2 separate regions of the Homo sapiens genome follow, and region 2 is linked to region 1. Evidence: promoter capture Hi-C in 16 types of primary human blood cells and fetal thymus (Javierre and others, 2016). All regions are on one chromosome and are shown on one strand. Each heading gives the region's core, a stretch centred on a gene start or on the middle of the fragment in contact. The rest is flanking DNA. Distances are from core to core; before and after follow the strand shown. Region 1 holds the start of GCM1 (glial cells missing transcription factor 1). Region 2 overlaps GCLC-AS1 (GCLC antisense RNA 1).

What was found. The method cuts DNA at HindIII sites, captures the fragments that hold promoters and counts their contacts. A CHiCAGO score of 5 or more calls a contact.
Region 2: a contact is called between a fragment that was not itself captured here and the fragment with the promoter of GCM1 in region 1, in 17 of 17 cell types (activated CD4 T cells, total CD8 T cells, total B cells and 14 more). The highest score is 13.6, in activated CD4 T cells.

What each region holds. Positions count from the first base shown.
Region 1 is chr6:53,145,784-53,152,951 of GRCh38, forward strand. It overlaps GCM1 (glial cells missing transcription factor 1), which reads right to left and starts at 3,058. Exons shown (of 6, transcript NM_003643.4): 1 at 2,971-3,058. It also overlaps the pseudogene LOC124901513. The HindIII fragment of the contact is 12,096 bases long and covers 1,600-7,168 here.
Region 2 is chr6:53,437,531-53,444,482 of GRCh38, forward strand. The region is part of intron 1 of GCLC-AS1 (GCLC antisense RNA 1); the gene reads left to right. Among named protein-coding and RNA genes, the nearest start is that of GCLC-AS1, 9.5 kb to the left of the region's middle. The HindIII fragment of the contact is 2,410 bases long and covers 2,028-4,437 here.

The sequences.
Region 1 (7,168 bases), core at 1,808-4,307:
ATATTAGTATTGGCCATTAAAGAGATTTAAAAAAAAACCCCAATGCTCCTCTGCCAGAAAAACCTGTTTCACTGACATTTTTGCAAGTACCAACATACTAGTAAAAAACAAAACATAGGAGCCATAAGTGATTTTACTTAAAACTTGGCCATCGGGAATTAGAAGCGTGTGATCACTGCTTTCACCCTTGGGTTTGGGCTTGCTTTCTCATTGCAAGATCCAGGTTGTGAAGGCCTTAGCAGAGACAGTTGTCATCTGTAACCAATGGCTAGGACTTTTCCTGCTAGGGCAGGAGGATACTGGCTTGGAGTTGTTTCCATAGAAATGCCTTTATAAATTAGCTAATGTGTGGTTGAAGCTGCAAGAGGGGAACATCACACTGAATTTATCTAGGAAAATACATATATGTTTTATATATATATATATATATATATTTTTTTTTTTTTTTTTTTTTGAGATGGAGTCTCACTTCTTCACCCAGGCTGGAGTGCAATGGAGTGATCTCGGCTTACTGCAACCTCTGCCTCTTGGGTTCAAGCAACTCTCCTGCCTCAGCCTCCCCAGTAGCTGGGATTACAGGCATGTGCCACCACGCACAGCTGATTTTTGTATTTTTAGTAGAGATGGGGTTTCACTCTGCTGGCCAGCCTGGTCTCGAACTCCTGACCTCAAGTGATCTACCCGCCTCGGACTCCCAAAGTGTTGGGATTACAGGCGTGAGCCACCGCACCCGGCCAGAAAAAAAATATATTTGAAAATCCAAATCACTGTAAGGATTAGGTTTGGTCTCTGCAATAAATCCTGTGCGCACGATATATCTTCAAATATTATCAACTAATATGCTTATATCTGATTAATCTGAAACAGGGTTTCTTAAGTTTGGCACTATTGACATTTTGGACCAGATAATTCTTTGTTGTGGGGAGCTTTTTTCATGTTGTAGACTGTTTGGCAGCATCCCTGGTCTCTACCCATTAGGTGCTAGCAGCCTGTAATCCCAATACTTTGGGAGGCCAAGACACATGTATCACTTAAGTCTATGAGTTCAAGACCAGCCTGAGAAACATGCAGAAACCGTGTTTATACAAGAAGTACAAATCACTAGCTGGGCATGGTGGTGCACACCTGTAGTCCCAGCTACTTTGGGAGGCTGAGGTGGAGGATTACCCGAGCCCAGGAGGTTGAGGCTGCAGTGAGCCAAGATTGTGTCACTGCATGCCAGCCTGGGTGACAGAGTGAGACCTTGTCTCAAAAAATAAATAAATGAATGAATGAATAAATAAATAAATGAATGAATAAATAAAAGTTTGTTCAAATGGCATTTCTTCCCTCACGAGAAATAGTGCTCTAATTTCTAACTATAATTGGTTAAAGGAGGTTTACCAAGAAAAAAAGAAAGAAAATTTGAAGTGTTCTACCCTGAGGAAAAAAATGAATAATTTTGCAGATGAAAGCTACTTGTTAGTACGATATGAAGTGAAACATGTTCACATGTATAACATTTCATTTATTGGTACTCTTATAAAAACAAGAGACATAATGATGTTATGTAGAGCTATTTAATAGCGAACTCAAACTATAAGGTAGATTAATAGTCTAAGCTTTGGCGAGACCCATGAACTCTTTTCTTTAGTTTTTATTGTTTTTTTTTTTTTTTTTTTTTTAATGGAGTCTTACTCTTATCACCCAGGCTGGAGTGCAGTGGCGCAATCTCAGCTCACCATAGCCTCCACCTCTGGGGCTCCAGTGATTCTTTTACCTCAGCCTCCCAAGTAGCTGGGATTACAGGCACGCACCACCACACCCAGCTAATTTTTGTATTTTCAGTAGAGATGGGGTTTCACCATGTTGACCAGGCCGGTCTTGAACTCCTTTCCTCAGGTGATCCATACGTCTCTGTCTCCCAAAGTGCTGGGATTACAGGCATGAGCCACTGTGCCCGGCCTGTTCTTTAGTTATTTAGTGTTATATAATCCTAATACTTGTCAATCACTGAACTCTACCAAGGGAAAGTGTATGTATATAAAAGACCGTTGACCTGAACATAAGAATGAAGTTCCTTTTTTCTTTTTTGTGTGTGCTCTAGATGTCCAGAGAAATTTCTCTAGTAACAAACTATAGAAATGATCCCTGAAAGTATAGTCTTTATAAATAAAGTTCTTGACCATTAAATGACAAGCTAATCAGAGTCTCTTCCTGTCTGTTCCACATACCCATACTGAGCTACAACCTAGTGGTTGCAGAGCACGAAGTTTCTGTTCCCCAACTGAATGTTGATTTTCAAGACTAAATCCTCATGGATTTTAAGTAAAATTCTATGTTTAGGAAAGAAACATTGTGTTACTGAAGAAATGATGCCGCAAATTGACTCTAATTCAAAGGACTTAAATAACAGGTATAGAAGATGCAGATACCAAGCAGCAGTTCCGTGTACTTACCCTGAACAGTAACGATATTGTCTCTGATGGTGCAAATTTTGTTATAACTAATTGGAATAGATCTACTTTTTAAAAACCTTGGCAAATAAGATTCATATTTTCAAAAATCAAAAACATTGTTATAAAGCCTAGGCAATATAGACATAATTATTTTGTTTTTAAATTAAGGGAAGAATAATAAAGAAAATTTTATTACAGAACAACTATGTTACATTTTAGATTTTTCTCTCGATATTAACATTTGCTAAGCGAATGAGCATTAATTTAATATTTCCCTAAAAGTTAAGAACAAAACATAGAAAAGAAGAAAAAACCATTTTACAGCCCTTAAGTAAACTCTGTTTTCCTCTTCTAGGATTGAAAAACTACACTTGTCAAGACTCCTTTTTTTAAAGCAACTTGCGCAAAGTATATTCAATTTTCATCATTTCTACAGAAAAATGAACTAGAACAAATGAAACCCTGTAGGAATAGAGTGGTCGTTGCCACATCCCTTACATTTGCCTCTCCACGGGATTTCTGGCTTTCTTACCTTCTAACTTCTTACGGAGAAGCAGACAGCACTGTGTCGTGAAAATCTTACTGCTGGTTCAAGTCCCAGCAGGCTCTGGTCATTTTCTGAGCAGACGCTGTTCCCTATTCCAGGTCAGGGTACACTATGCTAATGAGTTCTGGCAATGGTCCAATCAAAATCTAGATGCTCTAGGCTCTGGATAGGTAAGAGCAGCCTGGGAGTCACTTAACCAGCCTGATTCTTCCCAGAATGCCAGCAATGTGATGAATATTCTATGATGTGTCTCTGAACTTCCCCCTCCCTTTATGTTATGAGGACATTTGAACTAAAATGGACATTGAAAAGAACCTCATAAGGAAGTACAGATGTTTTTCTTCTTGTGATGTTACAGGTTGGGCCCCAGGCAGACGATTCACAGTAGGTCCTAATTCTCCCACTATTTACCCGGCAGGTAATAGTTCTCTCTCATGTGTGCAAGAGAGAGAAGACAGACAGACAGAGATAGAGAGATATTATGGTGAGGAAATTTACTGGAATAGACAGTGGATAGCCAACATCCTCTATACCAGAAATACTGAAATGCTATCTTAACCCTAGCAATAATGTCCCACTAATTCTAAGTGTTCTGATCCCCTAAAAATATACAATTCTTGGCCGGGCGTGGTGGCTCACACCTGTAATCCTAGCACTTTGGGAGGCCGATGTGGGCGGATCACAAGGTTGGGAGTTCAAAACCAGCCTGGCCAAGATGGTGAAACCCCGTCTCTACTAGAAATACAAAAATTAGCCAGGTGTGGTGGCGAGCGCCTGTAATCCCAGCTATTTGGGAGACTGAGGCAGAGAATTGCTTGAACCCGGGAAGCGGAGGTTGCGTGAGCTGAGATTGCGTCACTGCAGTCAAGCCTGGGTGACAGAGCGAGGCTCCATCTCAAAAAAACAAAAACAAAACAAAACAAAACAACAAAAAAAAACGAACAAACAAAAACCAATTATTTCTTCTAGAGATACCCTCAGTGCTATTCTTCCTTTTAGAGACATCCGCAGTACAGCCTAAATCAGTTCAGTTCATATGTTTTGTTCTAGGTAGTCTGCCAGGCCTTGGCAACACAAGAGAGAATGAAAGCCATTAAGAAGTTCATTCTAGTAGAAAAGATGATTAAAGCTACTAAATAAGGCCGATTTAATTTGATGTATAGAATAAAAGTAATATAAATGAGAAGGCTATTAAGCTGGAGGGAGGAGAACCAAAGGAAACCCACCAAAATAATGCTCGATGAGCCTTTTGAAGGACAAATAGATATTTATCAAGGCGTGAAGGACTGGAAGAGGGTGTTTCGGGGAGTGACAATATCCTGGACAACATGACGAGGGATCAGTACCTGTCAGGAAGGTCCAGACTTTCAAGGATGAGGCTTAGGAGGCAGAGATGAGAAGGCGAGAAGGCAAAAGGCTTGGAAAGCCTCATAGTTGCATTCGGCGGCCCCTAATAGATTTCTCATTCGTCTTTCAGTTCATGAACAAATTCCTTTCCTGCCTGAAGTTTAAGACCCTGCTTCATCTTTTTTTTTTTTTGAAACGGAGTTTTGCTCTTGTTGCCCAGGCTGGAGTGTAATTGCACTATCTCGGCTCACCACAACCTCTGCCTCCCGAGTTCAGGCGATTCTCCTGCCTCAGCCTCCTGAGTAGCTGGGATTACAGGCGCACACCACCACGCTCGGCTAATTTTGTATTTTTAGTAGAGATGGGGTTTCTCCATGTTGGTCAGGCTAGTCTTGAATTCCCGAACTCAGGTGATCCACCCGCCTCGGCCTCCCAAAGTGCTGGGATTACAGGCGTTAGCCACCACGCCTGACCAACCCTGCTTGATCTTATTGTACTTTATCTGGCCAGTCTTGGTCTCCTCTCTGTAATCCCTTTGTTGGTCAGGAGGACATTTCTCCATCCATCAGATACATTGTATCAGGACAAAGCCTAAAATTATGCCAGCTGGTGAAAGAGGATGTCTACAGGGTCTAGGTCCAGAATCACAAGCGGAGTAAAGAGTGGATTTAGTGTCGACAGGCAATAAGTCAATCACTGGCACACCTGTTGTGCTTATTCACTTACTTAGGTCTATTCTCTAGTGTATTTTTCACATCCATATATCTGAACCCTGTCTACCCTTCAGGATCCCCAAAATGCCACCTCCTTATGAGAGCTTCCCACACTATTCAAGAACACATGATTCCTCATTTCTGTGATGCTCTTTTGTTTCTTTTTTGAGACAAGGTCTTACTCTGTCACCCAGGCTGGAGCACAGTGGTGTGATTATGGCTCACTATGGTCTCGCTTTCCTGGGCTCAAGTGATCCTCCCGCCTCAGCATCCCAAGTAGCTGGGGCTACAGGTGCTCACCACCACGTCCCGCTAATTTTTGTATTTTTTGTAAAGATGGGACTTCACCATGTTGTCTAGGCTGGTCTTGAATTCCTGGGCTCAAGAAATCGCCTGCCTTGGCCTCCCAAATTGCCGGAACTACAGGTATGAGCCACGGTGCCTGGCCATGTTGAACTCTTAACTGTGAATTATATGCTGTCTTGTATCACTTGGATCTAACAGTGTTTTTAAATTACAAAATAAATTCATGATTTATAAAAAAGTCATATTCTCATCTCCCATAGGTTTCCACTGTTAACATGTCAGGCATGTCCTTTCAAACTTTTGTTTTCCCATATCTTTTTGTTCCCATATAGAACAAAAGATATTATTTTTATTTGCAATCCTATTTTACGTGATATTGCCTTTAGTTGTTTTGTTTTGTTTGTTTGGTTGATTGGTTTTGTTTTGCTTTTTTTGGAGATACGGTTTCCCTGTGTGGTCCAGGGTAGACTCAAACTCCTAGGTTCAAGTCATTCTCCCCACTGAGCCTCCCAAGCAGCTGGGACTCCAGGTGCCCGCCACCACATCAGGCTATTGCTTTTCATTGTTGATGAGTGTTGGTTCTGGCTCCCCAGTGAGGCTGCTAGTTCTTTCACGGCCAAGTTGGGATCTTCTACTTTCCCTCTCCTCATAGAAAGACTTGCTGAGTTTCCAGCAGCAACATCACAGCCATCCTTGTCCCAAGCACCAACCCTACTCGGACACAGGAGGGCGCTGAGAAGCTCTGCCTTCACACTCTGATAGAGGTGTGACATGATGTCCAGACTAGTAAGGGTATTTTTGCTTTCTTGAGGCCAAGGTCCCAACTTATTACCCAAATTCTCCTAATTGTTTTTGTTTTGTTTTGTTTTTTGACACAGGGTCTTGCTCTGTCCCCCAGACTGGAGTGCAGTGGCACAATCTCAGCTCACTGTAGCCTCCTCTTCCCAGGCTCAACCTATCCTCCCACCTCAGCCTCCCAAGTAGCTGGGACCACAGGCACATGCTACCACACTCAGCTAATTTTAAAAACTTTTTGTAGAGACAGGGTCTCACTGTGTTGCCAGGCTGGGCTCGAACTCCTGGGATCCAGTGATCCACTGCCTCAGCCTCCCAAAGTGCTGAGATTATAGGCGTGAGCCACCTTACCTGGCCAAATTCTCCTAATTGGATCTCTGTCATTGTTATTAATAACAATAATCATAGTAGCTTCCCTTGACTGCACATTTACAATGAATCAGGCGCCATGCTTAATCACCTGTCTGTATTATCACTCTTGATCCATACAGCATCCCTATCAGATAGATACTATTTTTATTATGCCTCCTTTGTGGAGAAGGAGATCAAGGCTCAGACAAATAGCTTTACACAGAAATGTAAGTAGCAGAGCTGGGGTAGAACTCAGAGACATGCCTGTTGACCACGGTACTGCATGAAGAGCCCTATGTGTTCAGCATCTGGAGTCTTTGTCTCCACTCCTATAAAATCTGAGTTCTACATCACTCTTTCCACCCTGTGCCTCCTCCCCTAGAGACAGGAATCCTGCCTTAAGCCAGGTGGCTAGAGGCCCTATTACTTGGTAACTGACCTCAACCACTAATGATTGGATTTCTCAGTATCTCTACTTTTGCATTCCCTGACACTCTGAGGCCTGCCTATTGAGATCATTCTGGTTTTTTTTTCATCAATAGTGGTGCTTTAGGCATTTTAAGCAGGATAATTATTTGGGTCAGACTGTCCCATGCACAGAATTCCCAGACGCAAGATGCCAGCAACATCCCAGTCACAATATCAACCATAACCCACACCTTCATATTTCT
Region 2 (6,952 bases), core at 1,983-4,482, 290 kb after region 1:
CATAGTTTCTAATTATGCATTTGGTGGTTATTGGATCCATATCTCCCCTCTCCCTAGAAAGGAAGTTCCAAAAGGTCTGAGGTTGGTTTTGACTTTGCTCGACATTAAATTTCCAGGACTGAGCACAGTTACTGACTCTGGTGGTCACTGAAAAATGCTATTATGTATCCATGGACAGATGTATGACTAAGCATCATGTAAACTGGTGACGATGGTAGACTGGGAAGAATAAAATGAGAGCGCTATCTAGTGGCACCAGGTGCAACAAGCAAAATGGGGCCAAGTTTTTGCCTGAGGCCTTACAAAAGTGTTGAAATCCTTGTGGAGAAAATTTTCTTTTTCTCAGGAGGGCAGTAGAATATCCTTAGAAGTGACTAGACTTATGACAGTAATGACATGAGGAAGAATATGTCACAAAGTTAACAGGAAGATTGACTCCAATCACAAGAAGTGAGGGCTGCAGAGGCCATGAAGGGATGGAAAACTTTTTCTTAGTTTTATCACTACTGGGTAATGGGCAGAGCCTGGGAGACAGAGAAGAGAACAGGCCGTATGGAGCACGCATCAACAACCCTGAGCTTCAGAGCACTTAGTACTGCAAGAAGAATGTGTAAGAAACTCTGGAACCCAGTTCCTGGGAGAGTGAGGGAACACCAGTGATTTCATTGGTATTAGGCTTGAAATATTGATTATTTTCTTTATTCCATATTTCACATTGTTATCCACATACCCCTTCTGACTACATACAGCACCAGGTGTAGGAAATGTGTGTTAGAAGATGATGTTTTTTGCCTTAACCATTGATTTTAATGATCATTTCATCCTCTCTGCTCTACCCTAAGTGGCCTTTCAGAGTCAATTGTGGCTTATTTCATAATTATCTTTTTCAGACTACTTCTGTACATTGGTACCACATCTGTAATGAACCATCGACTCATCTATTTCCCAATTCATTTGAATCTAGAATTTGGCAAGCCTTTCTTTTTTAGTGTGTTTTTTAATTTGACTCCGCATTTTTCTGTTTAGGTTGCACACTTGAAAAAAAGCTTTACCCCTTTTTTGAAAAGTTGGCAGACGTCTTTTTTTTTGAGACAGGGTCTCACTCTGTTGCTCAGGCTGGAGTGCAGTGGCGCGACCTTGGCTCACTGCAACCTCCACCTCCCGGGCTCAAGTGATCTTCCCACTTAGCCTTCTGGGTAGCTGGGACTACAGGCACGTGCCACCAGGCCCAGATAATTTTTTGTATTTTCTAGAGACAGGATTTCGCCATATTGTCCAGGCTGGTCTTAAACTCTTGAGCTCAAGCGATCCATCCGCCTCAGCCTCTTGAAGTACTGGGATTGCAGGTATGTGCCACCGTGCCCAGCCACAGACGTCTTAATGAAAATGAACCATTACAGTAATATACTAGGGCAAGGGCAATTTGTTCATTATCGACAAGCAAATCACTAAATTATGTAAATTACTGGATTAGACAGGCAGAATTACTTTTCTTTCAGAGAATAATCAAATATTACTTTAAAATGTTCATTTGTTTAAGTTTTTGGCTTTAGATCCAGAAAATCCAAATATTTGAATTTACATCTATTAAAAACCAAATTCAACCTCGAGACCGAAGTCCATCATTCATAGTCCACAGTAGAATATATGAAACCACGAAGATTTTTAATTTCCCTTAATAAACCTGTTTATTGAGCACTTCTATTTCCCCTCCTTCCCCCTATTTTTGTTTTAAAACATCCTTTCATGAAAGAACAATATTTAAATAAACCTTTGAGGAACAGATAGAGCTATTTAACAAGTGAGGTAATTATATATTATCATTCCCACATGATGGGGGTTTATAAAGGATTTAAAAGTTTGTTTCTGCATTTGTTTTCAAGGACTTGCCCAAGCACGGAAACTCCATATATATCAGCGACTAGGGAAAATTGATTCTAATAGATTTTTCTTCCAAGAACAGGAATCTTTCTATTTCATATTGCACATGAATATTAAGTAAACTACCTGCTGGAAACAGAAAAAAAAGCTTTACTCAAATATAAGTTGCTGATTTAAATAAACTGTTGTACTTTAAATAGAAAAAAACTCTAAATATAAATAATAAAGTAGCATTTCTAAGTGTAGCTACTAGGTTTATTACTGAGTTCTGCAGGGAACTGAATGACCTAACCCCAAATACCATCCTTTTATGACCAATTTGTGTGGACAGTTATAAATAGTGCAGTGAACTCTGCCTACAAGGCTGTAAGCCAAAAATTTTTGAGTGAATAAAGGGACTGCTGTTCTTTGTGAATAAGCAATTATTAAATGTTGTTTCTGAAACTGGAAGCTGAGTAAAGCAGTTTGTCAGTAGACAGTCTAATATAAAAGAAATTAATTTGATAAAAGTTCCCTCAAAAATGGCTTATGTACTTTGTACACTATGTATGGATCTATTTACACATGTAAAAATTACTTCCATGTAGACATAGCATTGATATATTTATTTATTAAAATTTCTTCATTAGAATAAATTATATAGCGTCAAAACTTTGGCAACATTTTAGTGTAAGAACTGTTTGTGCTCTTAAAAAACTATTCTGTTTATAACTATAATACATATTCACTGGAGAACGTGCAACAATAAATGCATACTGACTAAAAGAAGAATGAAAACTATTCAAACTCTTACCTTCTAGAAGCAATCAAGTGTAACTTACCTCCAAAGTTATGACTCGCAGCTCTTTCCTAGTTAGTGAATATAGGTGTACATCACCATTTTAAATTGCTGCTGTTGGCATAATTGATTTTTAAAACCAACTTTCAAAACCAACTTGTATAAGCCCAGATTTTAACTGGGACATGCAATTCTAGGGCAGCAAGAGTGGAGGAAAAGATACAGGGAATAGTGGCAGAGAAGGAGCAACACCATGCAATGTGTTTTGCTTCCTGATGACACTCTCAGAGGCAAAGTCTGTTAGCGGGGGCACTTCCTGGATCAGGCACTATGTGCTCAGAAAGGCCGTATGGAGAAATCCTATCTTGGAACAGTCTTTTAAAGGAAAGAAGGGGAAGGTATTTATCTGCTGCCTCCTTTTGACTTCTTTCTTCCACTGGTCAAATTTTGTCTCATGAGGAAGTTTACTCCCTCACATCACTCAGCATCTTTGGGAGTCACTTGCCAAACCACATCCCATGTCCTGAAATGAGATTCTCTATCTAAATTTGGAAGTGACAGGAAGGACCAGAGACTGTAAATGTGTAGCTGACGGCCCCAGGAGGTAGATTTTTATAGGTCTACACCTAGCAGGTCAGTCATAGCAAGTGCTTAGGTAAAACAAAGCAAACCAGGGTCAATGAGACAGCTAAGAAAACCTGTGGAGGCAAATAAGATATGTACTGAAGAAATAATTTAGGTTATTTTCCACAATAACTAAGGCTGCAGTGAGAATCTTTTTGCATATATCTTGTGTACTTCTATGTGTATGGTCTTAGAATAAATTTCCAGGAGATATATTACTGAGTCAAAAGTTACAATTACTGTAACTGTGATACACTTGAAAAATTGCCCTCTAGAAAGGTTAGACCAATTTTATTCCATCCAACAGTCACAAGAATACTCATTTCCTCATGAACTTGCCAACGCTGTAATTTGTGTCAGTCAGTGTTTGTGAGATTATGCTGCAGTAACTAATGACCTGGCAAATGGCAGTGGCTTACAACCAACATTTTTTTCCTTTTCACATATGTTAGCTGCAGATTGACTTAAGCTCTTCTCCATGTGCCATTGATCTCAGGGCTCAGACTAAAGGAGCAGCCCCATCTCAGTCTGATGCCAAAGGAAGCAGAGGGATAATGAAACTCCAGAATGACTCTTAAAAATTCTCTGCTCAGAAATGACACATATCACACTTGCTTACATTTCACTGGTCAGAGCAAGTCATACTGCAAAGGCTGATTTCAGTGAAGCAGAGAGTTATAATCCTTGAAAAGGAAGAGGCAGTGAATAACTGGTAAAAAATATAATCTACCACATTATCTTTGCCAATGAAATGTGGGAATGGAATAATATAATTATTTTAAATGTACACTTCTTTGATTACTAGTTAGGTTGAAACATTTTTGTATGCTTATTGGCAATTCATTTTTCTTCTTTTGGAAATTGTTCTTGCCTTTTGCCCATTTTCTGACTGAATGCTTTCTTATTAATTTGTAAGACTTTTTGCATATGAAAGATGTATATATTTCCTTCATTCAATTTAAATAATGATGTTTTTCCAAAGACAAATTTTTAAATGCATGTGGTCAAATACATGTTTTTTTTTTTAAAAAATGGTTTTCTATTTCATTTCTTGCCTTAGTGTAGAAGAATGTTACATTAATGTTTCCCAATGAATCATGCCTCCAAGCATCCATGCCCTTTTGTGGTCCCCTCCCACTGCAACTTGGCCATGAAGCTTTCTTTGGCCAAAGAGAAATTAGCAAAGCATGATGCAAGGAAAAAGCTTGATAAGCACTTACACGTTGAAACTTACACACTGAAACTTACACCTTGAAACGTCTCCTCTTGGAATGCTCTATCACCGAGACTTGAGCCAACATCTAAAGAGGTCCAGACATGTTGAGACTCCATGCTATGAGAGAAAGAGGGGCATATCTGACTAGGTCGCAGCTTTTCCAGCCCTCCTCGTGGAGGCACCAGACATGTGAATGAAACCATTGAGATTTCCACACCTGAGTTGAGTGACCACTGGCAACACCAGCAAAGTGCTTCCCACTAGAGGCCAGTCCAGTTGCAGAATCGTGGTTACAAATATGGTGGTTGTTTTGAGCCATGAAGTTTTTGCTTAATCAATAGCTGAAATGCTTAGTGTCCTCCTTTTCTCAAGAATTTAAAATGTTCACCTGTAGTTACTTTGCTGGTTTTATAGTTGTTTTGGGTAAACATTCAGCTTTGTCCATTTGAAATAAATTCTTGGGTAAGGAGTGGAGTGAGAATTTAATGACAGTTACTGTTATTACTTCCATTTCGCAAATGAAGAAACTAAGGCTTAGGCTTAGTGAAGTTAAGTGACTTGTCTAAAACCAGACAATAAGAAGCAGATCAAGATTCTTACAGTCTGACCCCAGAGCTCGAGCTCTTACCCCTATACTGTGGACCTGGAGCCCAGGCAAGGGCAAGGGGTCTGCCCTGCCCCTCATCAATAGCTGCACATCACTTCACAAACAAGCATCTTCACACTTGCTCTGTGTCTTTTATAAAATATGGTAATTAGAAAGATTGCTTTTAAATATTTTTACCCTGATTTATTTTTATCCTAAAAATAGGATCTATTTTTACCCTACTTTCAAAAACAGGCTATACTTCTATTGGAATTTAGCGCATGTGGTAGAGACACTGCCAGATTAGAAGGAACCTGATTTAGCATTTGGGTTCAAGGTGAAGACTTGGTTTGGGATGAGTGAGTGTTTGAACAAGAGGAAAGAAGGAACTACTCCCAGTGATTTCTCCAGGTTTTTGTGTCAAAGGAGCATCTAGGATATGGGATTCTGTCCTTTCAGTGATGTTGTTGGTGGAGGAGGAAAGTTTGATGGGGAAAGTTAGCTTTAAGCATATGTGCCATCTCCAGCAGGTGTTGGTATTCATACCATACACTCCTGACTCCCACCAGGAGGCTTGTGGTGACAGGCTGCAAGCTACATGATTCCCGGGGTGGTCAGAGGTGTCAGGGAGTCTCCTTCCAATAGTCAGTTCTTGAGATCATTGGTATTGAAATCCAGCTTGAGGTCAAGAAAGAAGGTGTGTCGCAGGCTCAATTAGTCCCTAAAACATAATCACGGAAATACAGATCCTGAGGGGGTTGCTTCTTAATGAAAGATAGCTAGAGAGGCTGGATTAAGACACAGATTGAGGCTGGGCATGGTGGCTCACGCCTGTAATCCCAGCACTTTGGGAGGCCGAGCAGGCGGATCACCTGAGGTTGGGAGTTCGAGACCAGCCTGACCAATATGGAGAAACCCCATCTCTACTAAAAACACAGAATTAGCCAGGCATGGTGGCGCATGCCTGTAATCCCAGATATTTGGGAGTCTGAGCAGGAGAATCACTTGAAGCCGGGAGGCGGAGGTTGCGGTGAGCCGAGATTGCGCCATTGCACTCCAGCCTGGGCAAAAAGAGTGAAACTCCATCTAAAAAAAAAAAAAAAAAAAAAAAAGACACAGATTGAACGTACATGAGTTTCCCCTTGGGTTCATTCTATGAAGTCACAGGGGAAAGTGTATCTATATCTACATCTACAATGTCTATAGATATCTCCATCAAATGCCGGAAACCAAAAGAACACCGTGAACAGACCCACAGTTCTGAAGAATTATCAAATGTGTAAACCAGAGGGAAATGCTTTCAATTCAGGTGGTTAATTAAGCACAAACATTTATCTACTCTTCCTACTGAGACTCCCATTAAAATGATGATAAACAAAATTTTTTTAAAAAGTATAAGCCCACAACAAGATAGGGCACACCCAGAAAGCAAATATTTAATAATAAAGATGAGTCAAGGAAATTAACACTAACATAAATACAAGAGGCAGTTGATCTACCCAGCAGACTACATAGAACTTCCAGATTCAAAAGTCTGAGTTGACAGGTGGGGTGGAAATCAATGGGACTGATTGAAGATTCAGATACAGATTATGTGGCTCCACATACCTACCCTTTCTCCTTCATCAACCTCAACAGCAACTGGGTATTCATTCCTTGGTCAAAAGTGGACTGGAAGGATTTTTCCTTAAGTAATAGAACAAATCAACGGGGATAAACTGGGGCAGCTAGTGTGGACTTGATATTCCCGATAAAGTCCTTCTCATTCTGGCATTCAGGGTACCCCAGGCTCTCATCCACTCACTTTAAAGTGAAGCCAATGGGAATAGGCTGTTTCACTCCTTCCCACTCTGCAGGTGAAAGAGTC